Regions from separate parts of the Homo sapiens genome. Here all the other regions are linked to region 2. The links are contacts of gene promoters, found by promoter capture Hi-C in blood cells and fetal thymus (Javierre and others, 2016). All regions are on one chromosome and are shown on one strand. Each heading gives the region's core, a stretch centred on a gene start or on the middle of the fragment in contact. The rest is flanking DNA. Distances are from core to core; before and after follow the strand shown. Region 1 overlaps KIF5A (kinesin family member 5A). Region 2 holds the start of INHBE (inhibin subunit beta E). Region 3 overlaps MBD6 (methyl-CpG binding domain protein 6).

Region 1 (2,700 bases), core at 76-2,575, 110 kb after region 2:
GCAAGTTTATCATGCATGTGCCATGCAGATTGTCAAAGGTAATAGATTTCTTTTTAGAATGTCTCTTCTCAGCACCCCATTTCCTACCCGACCTATCTCCACCAGTACTCTTTCTCTACTGTCTCTTCCAGATGTCCTTGCTGGCTACAATGGCACCATTTTTGCTTATGGACAGACATCCTCAGGGAAAACACATACCATGGAGGTGAGGGTTCTGGCTTTGGTGGTTGAGGGGCTAGGAGTGTTAATGGAAGATCAGGGAATCTCAGTGGGGGAAGGTCTAGGAATCAAGGATTGCCTGGTCCAGAGGCAGATAGATGAGTACAGAGGATGAACTGAAGGGCAATATTAGGGGAAGTTTAATGGAATCCCTCCAACCCACTGCAGTGGATCATCCTTTCCACTACTCCAGTCTTCTTTTGATCGGGAAAAGCAATGGAAGTCCAAAGGGCTACTCAATTATCTCCTTGCTCCTCTAAAAGGCAGACATGGTGGTGACCATCTCCTAACTTAGGATGTTCTTCTTATTGACTCTTGCCTTGGTGTTCACCTGCATACATCTGAGTTGTCTCATTCTCCCTGAGCCCCAGCTTCACTCTCAAATACCTTCACTCGCCAGGGAAAGCTGCACGACCCTCAGCTGATGGGAATCATTCCTCGAATTGCCCGAGACATCTTCAACCACATCTACTCCATGGATGAGAACCTTGAGTTCCACATCAAGGTGACCAGGGCACGACAGCTGGGCATTCAGATGGGGACTGGGAGGGGAAGATCTAAAATCTTCCCACTGAAGAGCCTGGGCTCCCCAACTTGACTCCCTTTCCGGTTACCAGAGTTCTTTGTCAAGATGTTCTCTTCTGTTCTTTTCCTCCCACCACCGTTTGAGCAGGTCACATTAGTATGGGATTCCTGAACTAGATTTAAGATAGGCCCTCTTTACTTCACACTCCTTCTTTCTTCTTAACCAGGTTTCTTACTTTGAAATTTACCTGGACAAAATTCGTGACCTTCTGGATGGTGAGTGTTTTGTCCCAGTGGATGAGGGTGTGTGAGGAGGGTGGAGAAAAGAAAGCTCACATTGCATTTGGAATTAGGTACCAATTGACAAGAGATGCAGAGGGCACACAGCACCCAAGTCTTTTGGCCCCGTTTACCAGAATTTCCAAAAACTGAGAAGGTCAGGAGATGAGCTTAGCAGCCAAGGACTACATATAAACAGTTCGAGAGGATCTGGGGCCGAGGAGCAGGAGCCCTGAGGAGGAGAAGGAGGAGGAACTGAGCCTTCAGCTCGTGCAGGGAGTTTAGGCTTCACAGGGAGAGTCTTCCTTTAGCACAGAGAAGAAAACCACCATCTGAGCTGACTGCAAGGTGCAGATGGGGGCGGTGGAAGTACTAGTCTTGCTTACCCTGCATTCTTTTGATTCAGTGACCAAGACAAATCTGTCCGTGCACGAGGACAAGAACCGGGTGCCATTTGTCAAGGTGAGAGTGGGTGTGGGGCACCTATGTGGGGCCAGTGTATTGAGAATGTTGGTGGGGGAGGAGCATAGGTCAGTGACCCTGAAGTTGGAGGGTGGATATCCTGGAGGAATGAGATGTGCCTAGGGGCCAGGGAGAGTCTAGGGGATCAGAAAAGATACTGTCTTGGCTGGGCATGGTGGCTCATACCTGTAATCCCAGCACTTTGGGAGGCTGAGGTGGGTGGATCACTTGAGGCCGGGAGTTCAAGACCAGCCTGGCCAATATAGTGAAACCCCGTTTCTACTAAAAATACAAAAAATTAACTGGGCGTGGTGGCACATGCTTGTAATCCCAGCTATTTGGGACACTGAAGCAGGAGAATCTCTTGAACCTGGGAGGCAGAGGTTGCGGTGAGCCGAGATTGCGCCACTGCACTCCAGCCTGGGCGACAGAGTGAGAACCTGTCTTTAAAAAAAAAGAAGAAAAGAAAAGATACTGTCTTGAAAGGTCATTGGTCAGTGTGCATGCAATTTAATTTGCAAATCAAAGTTTACTGGAAGAAATGCCTGTAATCCCAACACTTTAGAAGGCTGAGGTGGGAGGATCACTTGAGGAGTTCAAGATCAGCCTGGCCAACATAGCAAGACCCGTCTCTCTTATTTAATCTAATTTTTTTTTTTTTTTTTTTTGGAGACAGAGTCTCACTCTGTTGCCCAGGCTGGAGTGCAGTGGCTCGACCTAGGGTCACTGCAACCTCCCTGTCCTGGGTTCAAACGATTCTCCTGCGTCAGGCTCCCGAGTAGCTGGGACTACAGGCATGTGCCACCACGCCTGGCTGATTTTAGTATTTTTAGTAGAGACGGGGTTTCACCATGTTGGCCAGGCTGGTCTCTAATTCCTGACCTCAGGTGATCCACCTGCCTCAGCCTCCCAAAGTGCTGGAATTACAGGCATGAGCCACTATGCTGAGTCTCTTGTTTAAAAAAAAAAAAAAATTTTTGTCAGGCATGGTGGCACACACCTGTAGTCCCAGCTACTCAGGAGGCTGAGGCGGGAGAATTGCTTGAGCTCAAGAGTTTGAGGTTGCAGTGAGCCATGATAGTGCCACTGCACTCCAGCCTGTGTAGTAGAGAGACAGTGGTTTTTTTTGTTTGTTTGTTTTTGTTTTTGGAGACAGATTCTCACTCTGTCACCCAGGCTGTAGTGCAATGGCATGATCTTGGCTCACTGCAACCT
Region 2 (2,884 bases), core at 159-2,658:
TGGTGTGAACCCGGGAGGTGGAGCTTGCAGTGAGCCGAGATTGTGCCACTGCACTCCAGCCTGGGCGACAGAGCGAGACTCAGCCTCAAAAAATAAAATAAAATAAAATAAAATAAAGACAGTGAGAAAATGTGGTCAGGAGGGCTGAGACTGGGAACCAAGACTGCTGTATTTGCCTTGCTTTGTTGTCAAAAGCTCTTAGAGCTCCCATTTTCTACCCCCATTAACAGGCCTGAAGGGTGGTGCGGTGGCTCACGCCTGTAACCTCAGCACTTTAGGAGGCTGAGGCAAGTGGATTGCTTGAGCCCAGGAGTTCAAGACCAGCCTGGGCAACATAGCGAGACCCTGTCTCTGTGGGAAATTTAAAAATTAGCCAGGTGTGGTGGTGCGCACCTGTAGTCCCAACTACTAAGGAGGCTGAGGCAGAAGGATTGTCTGAGCCCAGGAATTCAAGGCTGCAGTGAGCTATGATTGTGCCACTACACTCCAGCCTGAACAACAGATTGAGACCTTACCTCAGTAAAATAAAATAAAATTTAAATTTTAAAAATGTAAGAAAAAAAGGAGGCCTGGCACTACTTCTAGGATGCCCCAAATTTAGGCAACTCTCACAGTCCCTTGAAAGAGAAGTGGCAGCTGGGTATAGGCCCTCCCAAGTGTCATGCCCCCTGACAGTCCTGATGGACTCTGCCCTGTGTAAGATTGCATCACCACCACCACCACCTCTCTGGGCTTCCCCAGACATCACAGGAACACGTTCCCCGCCCCAACCCCCGCCGGCTCTGGCCCTCCTCCACATCATGCTCCACATCATGCTCCAGGCCAACTGGACTCTGGGCGGCCAGCACAGGCAGGGTCAGGGGGTGACTTCTGTGCCTCGTGGCACTGCCACCTGGGCCTGAGCAAGAGGGCTCCATTCTCCTACCCGCCCAAACCCTCATCCCTGTCCTAGCCCCAGTGCTAGAAATAAAGAGACCAGAATTTTCCTTCTGGCCTAAGGGCCCCAGAGGAATACCCACTGGAACTCACAGCTGCCTCATGGAAACTGCTGCAGCAGTGGTGAAGCTAGAAAGACTAGAGGTATGAGGGAAAATTGCCCTTCCCCACCTGGCTCATAAGGCGTTCCCTCCCCCAAGTCCCAGACCTTGGGGACTGAGCATGTGAAATCATCCTCTTTCTTGCATCATGCGTGTCCACATTGCACCCCCCCACCCCCATACCCCTACTTCAGGCCCAGTCACCATGGCCAGATGGTGAAACCTGAGCTGATGGGGAGGAGGACCTCCACCCCCTGCAGGGGCCTGATGGGCAGCACAGCTGGCCAATCCTGGGACTCAGAGGGTAGGTCGGCTGGCTGACCACTAGGTTTGGAAGACCCAGGCAGCTGGCTCTAAAGAGGCCCCAGGTCAGTAGCCAGACATGAGCTGTGAGGGTCAAGCACAGCTATCCATCAGATGATCTACTTTCAGCCTTCCTGAGTCCCAGACAATAGAAGACAGGTGGCTGTACCCTTGGCCAAGGGTAGGTGTGGCAGTGGTGTCTGCTGTCACTGTGCCCTCATTGGCCCCCAGCAATCAGACTCAACAGACGGAGCAACTGCCATCCGAGGCTCCTGAACCAGGGCCATTCACCAGGAGCATGCGGCTCCCTGATGTCCAGCTCTGGCTGGTGCTGCTGTGGGCACTGGTGCGAGCACAGGGGACAGGGTCTGTGTGTCCCTCCTGTGGGGGCTCCAAACTGGCACCCCAAGCAGAACGAGCTCTGGTGCTGGAGCTAGCCAAGCAGCAAATCCTGGATGGGTTGCACCTGACCAGTCGTCCCAGAATAACTCATCCTCCACCCCAGGCAGCGCTGACCAGAGCCCTCCGGAGACTACAGCCAGGGAGTGTGGCTCCAGGGAATGGGGAGGAGGTCATCAGCTTTGCTACTGTCACAGGTGGGTGAGGGAGAGAGCAACAGGCAAAGAGCAGACAGGGAAAGGGAGGCAGAAGGGGAGCCTGGCAGGAGCAGCAGAGGGAGTGGGGTGTGGCAGGAGAAGGAGGAGCTGGGGCAGGGACTGGTTGCAGAGGACACAAAGCAGTCTCTACTTTTCTAGAGGTAGGTTCGAGGGAGAGCAGTGGGCAGGGCTTGGGGAGTCTCAGAGGAGAGCTTCATCTCTACTCACATTTTCTTTCCCTTTTCTGTCTTTCGGGCAGACTCCACTTCAGCCTACAGCTCCCTGCTCACTTTTCACCTGTCCACTCCTCGGTCCCACCACCTGTACCATGCCCGCCTGTGGCTGCACGTGCTCCCCACCCTTCCTGGCACTCTTTGCTTGAGGATCTTCCGATGGGGACCAAGGAGGAGGCGCCAAGGGTCCCGCACTCTCCTGGCTGAGCACCACATCACCAACCTGGGCTGGCATACCTTAACTCTGCCCTCTAGTGGCTTGAGGGGTGAGAAGTCTGGTGTCCTGAAACTGCAACTAGACTGCAGACCCCTAGAAGGCAACAGCACAGTTACTGGACAACCGAGGCGGCTCTTGGACACAGCAGGACACCAGCAGCCCTTCCTAGAGCTTAAGATCCGAGCCAATGAGCCTGGAGCAGGCCGGGCCAGGAGGAGGACCCCCACCTGTGAGCCTGCGACCCCCTTATGTTGCAGGCGAGACCATTACGTAGACTTCCAGGAACTGGGATGGCGGGACTGGATACTGCAGCCCGAGGGGTACCAGCTGAATTACTGCAGTGGGCAGTGCCCTCCCCACCTGGCTGGCAGCCCAGGCATTGCTGCCTCTTTCCATTCTGCCGTCTTCAGCCTCCTCAAAGCCAACAATCCTTGGCCTGCCAGTACCTCCTGTTGTGTCCCTACTGCCCGAAGGCCCCTCTCTCTCCTCTACCTGGAT
Region 3 (2,902 bases), core at 123-2,622, 71 kb after region 2:
CCCGCCCTCCCTGTCGAGTTCCTCCTACAACTCCACTTAATGGGGGTCCTGGCTCCCTTCCCCCAGAACCACCCTCAGTTTCCCAGGCCTTTCCCACTCTAGCAGGCCCTGGGGGGCTTTTCCCCCCAAGGCTTGCTGACCCAGTCCCTTCTGGGGGCAGTAGCAGCCCCCGTTTCCTCCCAAGGGGCAATGCCCCCTCTCCAGCCCCACCTCCTCCACCTGCTATCAGCCTCAATGCTCCCTCATACAACTGGGGAGCTGCCCTCAGATCCAGCCTGGTGCCCTCTGACCTGGGCTCTCCTCCGGCCCCTCATGCCTCCTCCTCACCACCTTCAGACCCTCCTCTCTTCCACTGTAGTGATGCCTTAACACCCCCTCCCCTGCCCCCGAGCAATAATCTCCCCGCCCACCCTGGTCCTGCCTCTCAGCCACCAGTGTCTTCAGCCACTATGCACCTGCCCCTGGTCCTGGGGCCCCTGGGAGGGGCCCCCACGGTGGAGGGGCCTGGGGCACCCCCCTTCCTTGCTAGCAGCCTACTCTCTGCAGCGGCCAAGGCACAGCATCCCCCACTACCCCCTCCCAGCACTTTACAGGGCCGAAGGCCCCGTGCCCAGGCACCCTCAGCTTCCCACTCCTCATCACTTCGTCCCTCTCAGCGTCGTCCCCGCAGACCCCCTACTGTATTTCGATTGCTAGAAGGGAGAGGCCCTCAAACCCCTAGACGGAGCCGTCCTCGGGCCCCTGCTCCTGTCCCCCAACCCTTTTCTCTCCCGGAGCCATCCCAACCAATTCTCCCTTCTGTGCTGTCCCTGCTGGGACTCCCCACCCCTGGCCCTTCCCACTCTGATGGAAGCTTTAACCTTTTGGGGTCAGATGCACACCTTCCTCCTCCCCCAACCCTCTCCTCAGGGAGCCCTCCCCAGCCCAGGCACCCCATCCAGCCCTCCCTGCCTGGGACCACCAGTGGCAGCCTCAGCAGTGTGCCAGGTATGTGAGTATTGTGGAGCCCTTCCTCATCCTGGCTGGAAAGAGGCAGCCAAGGCATTTAGGGGAATGTTCAGAGAGCTCTTTGAGGGTTTTCTGGGTTGGGGGCAGGGAGGTTGGCTTCTTTGGATGATGGGAGAAAGGGCCTCCCTTGAGCTGAATTTCTCTCCTCTTTTACAGGTGCCCCTGCCCCACCAGCTGCCTCCAAAGCCCCAGTAGTCCCCAGCCCTGTGCTTCAAAGCCCATCCGAAGGACTGGGGATGGGGGCAGGCCCGGCCTGCCCTCTGCCTCCCCTGGCTGGTGGAGAGGCTTTCCCTTTCCCCAGCCCTGAGCAGGGCCTGGCACTGAGTGGAGCTGGCTTCCCTGGGATGCTTGGGGCCTTGCCTCTCCCTCTGAGTCTGGGGCAGCCTCCACCTTCTCCATTGCTCAACCACAGTTTATTTGGTGTGCTGACTGGGGGAGGAGGACAACCTCCCCCTGAGCCCCTGCTACCCCCACCAGGAGGACCTGGTCCTCCCCTAGCCCCAGGAGAGCCTGAAGGGCCTTCGCTTTTGGTGGCTTCCTTGCTTCCTCCACCACCCTCAGACCTTCTTCCACCTCCTTCAGCACCTCCCAGCAACCTCCTTGCCTCTTTCCTGCCCCTGTTGGCTCTGGGCCCCACAGCTGGGGATGGGGAGGGATCTGCAGAGGGAGCCGGGGGTCCAAGTGGGGAGCCATTTTCAGGCTTGGGAGACCTGTCCCCCCTACTTTTCCCCCCACTTTCAGCCCCCCCTACCCTCATAGCTTTAAATTCTGCGCTGCTGGCTGCCACCCTGGATCCCCCCTCGGGGACACCCCCCCAGGTGAGGATGGGGGTGAGTAGGTGGGACAGAACAAGATGTAGAATAAGAGATGGGAGCTGGGAATCAAAAGCTTTCAGTTTCATTCCTGAGCTCTTCCTTGGGGCCTTTGGGGAGGCCTTAGTTCTTGGCTGGGGGTAGGATGACTGCAAGAATTGGGTCTGTATTTAATAAGCATGGCCTATCTCACTTGAGGCTTCAGTCAGATAGTGGATGTGAAAGCACTATAAATCTGTTGAGTATTTTACACGCGTAAGTGTTAGAATCATTCTTTTTTCTTAGCCCTGTGTCCTGAGTGCCCCCCAACCTGGACCACCTACCTCCAGTGTCACCACGGCAACTACTGACCCGGGGGCCTCCTCTCTGGGCAAGGCCCCCTCCAACTCAGGGAGACCCCCCCAACTCCTTAGCCCTCTGCTGGGTGCCAGCCTGCTGGGTGAGTCTGAGGGAGTGTGAATTCACACTCTTGGTGTGAAAAAGCAGGAGTAAAACTTGGGAGTAGTGGCTGAATAAATTGGGGAAGAAAGTCTTTGGCCACTGGATAAAGCCTAAAGAGAATAGTAGGTCTGCTCAGCCTAATTGGTTTGCCTAGGGAGAGACCCCTGACTATAATTTCTCAACAGGTGACCTGTCTTCACTGACCAGCAGCCCTGGAGCCCTCCCCAGCCTGTTGCAGCCTCCTGGCCCTCTTCTCTCTGGCCAGTTGGGGCTGCAGCTCCTCCCTGGGGGGGGAGCTCCTCCACCCCTCTCAGAGGCTTCTAGTCCCCTAGCCTGCCTGCTACAGAGTCTCCAGGTGAGGGTGTGGGCATATATTTGTCAGGGAGATAATTTTTTCTCAAACTGGAAATTTAGGGCTTTCTGAGTTATAGTAGAAGAGGGACGGTATTTGAGATTGACTGAGAACTTATTTTTTTGCCAGCAGATCCCTCCAGAGCAGCCAGAAGCCCCCTGTCTACCCCCCGAGAGCCCTGCCTCAGCCCTCGAACCAGAGCCTGCCAGGCCTCCCCTCAGTGCCTTAGCCCCACCCCATGGTTCTCCCGACCCCCCAGTCCCTGAGCTGCTCACTGGGAGGGGGTCAG

What was found. Contacts are between HindIII fragments. The CHiCAGO score rates a contact against its expected background, and 5 or more counts as called.
Region 1: a contact is called between a fragment that was not itself captured here and the fragment with the promoter of INHBE in region 2, in 4 of 17 cell types (neutrophils, naive CD8 T cells, total CD8 T cells and 1 more). The highest score is 8.4, in neutrophils.
Region 3: a contact is called between a fragment that was not itself captured here and the fragment with the promoter of INHBE in region 2, in 4 of 17 cell types (naive CD4 T cells, neutrophils, total CD8 T cells and 1 more). The highest score is 5.7, in naive CD4 T cells.

What each region holds. Positions count from the first base shown.
Region 1 is chr12:57,563,489-57,566,188 of GRCh38, forward strand. It overlaps KIF5A (kinesin family member 5A), which reads left to right. Exons shown (of 29, transcript NM_004984.4): 2 at 1-38; 3 at 132-205; 4 at 620-724; 5 at 972-1,020; 6 at 1,430-1,485. Among named protein-coding and RNA genes, the nearest start is that of KIF5A, 15 kb to the left of the region's middle. The HindIII fragment of the contact is 4,556 bases long and covers 1-2,700 here.
Region 2 is chr12:57,453,899-57,456,782 of GRCh38, forward strand. INHBE (inhibin subunit beta E) reads left to right here and starts at 1,409. Exons shown (of 2, transcript NM_031479.5): 1 at 1,409-1,936; 2 at 2,196-2,884. The coding sequence starts at 1,639. RefSeq lists an enhancer at 1,088-1,382. The HindIII fragment of the contact is 16,061 bases long and covers 1-2,884 here.
Region 3 is chr12:57,525,402-57,528,303 of GRCh38, forward strand. MBD6 (methyl-CpG binding domain protein 6) reads left to right here. Exons shown (of 13, transcript NM_052897.4): 6 at 1-987; 7 at 1,165-1,826; 8 at 2,106-2,259; 9 at 2,447-2,616; 10 at 2,746-2,902. Among named protein-coding and RNA genes, the nearest start is that of MBD6, 4.0 kb to the left of the region's middle. The HindIII fragment of the contact is 1,043 bases long and covers 852-1,894 here.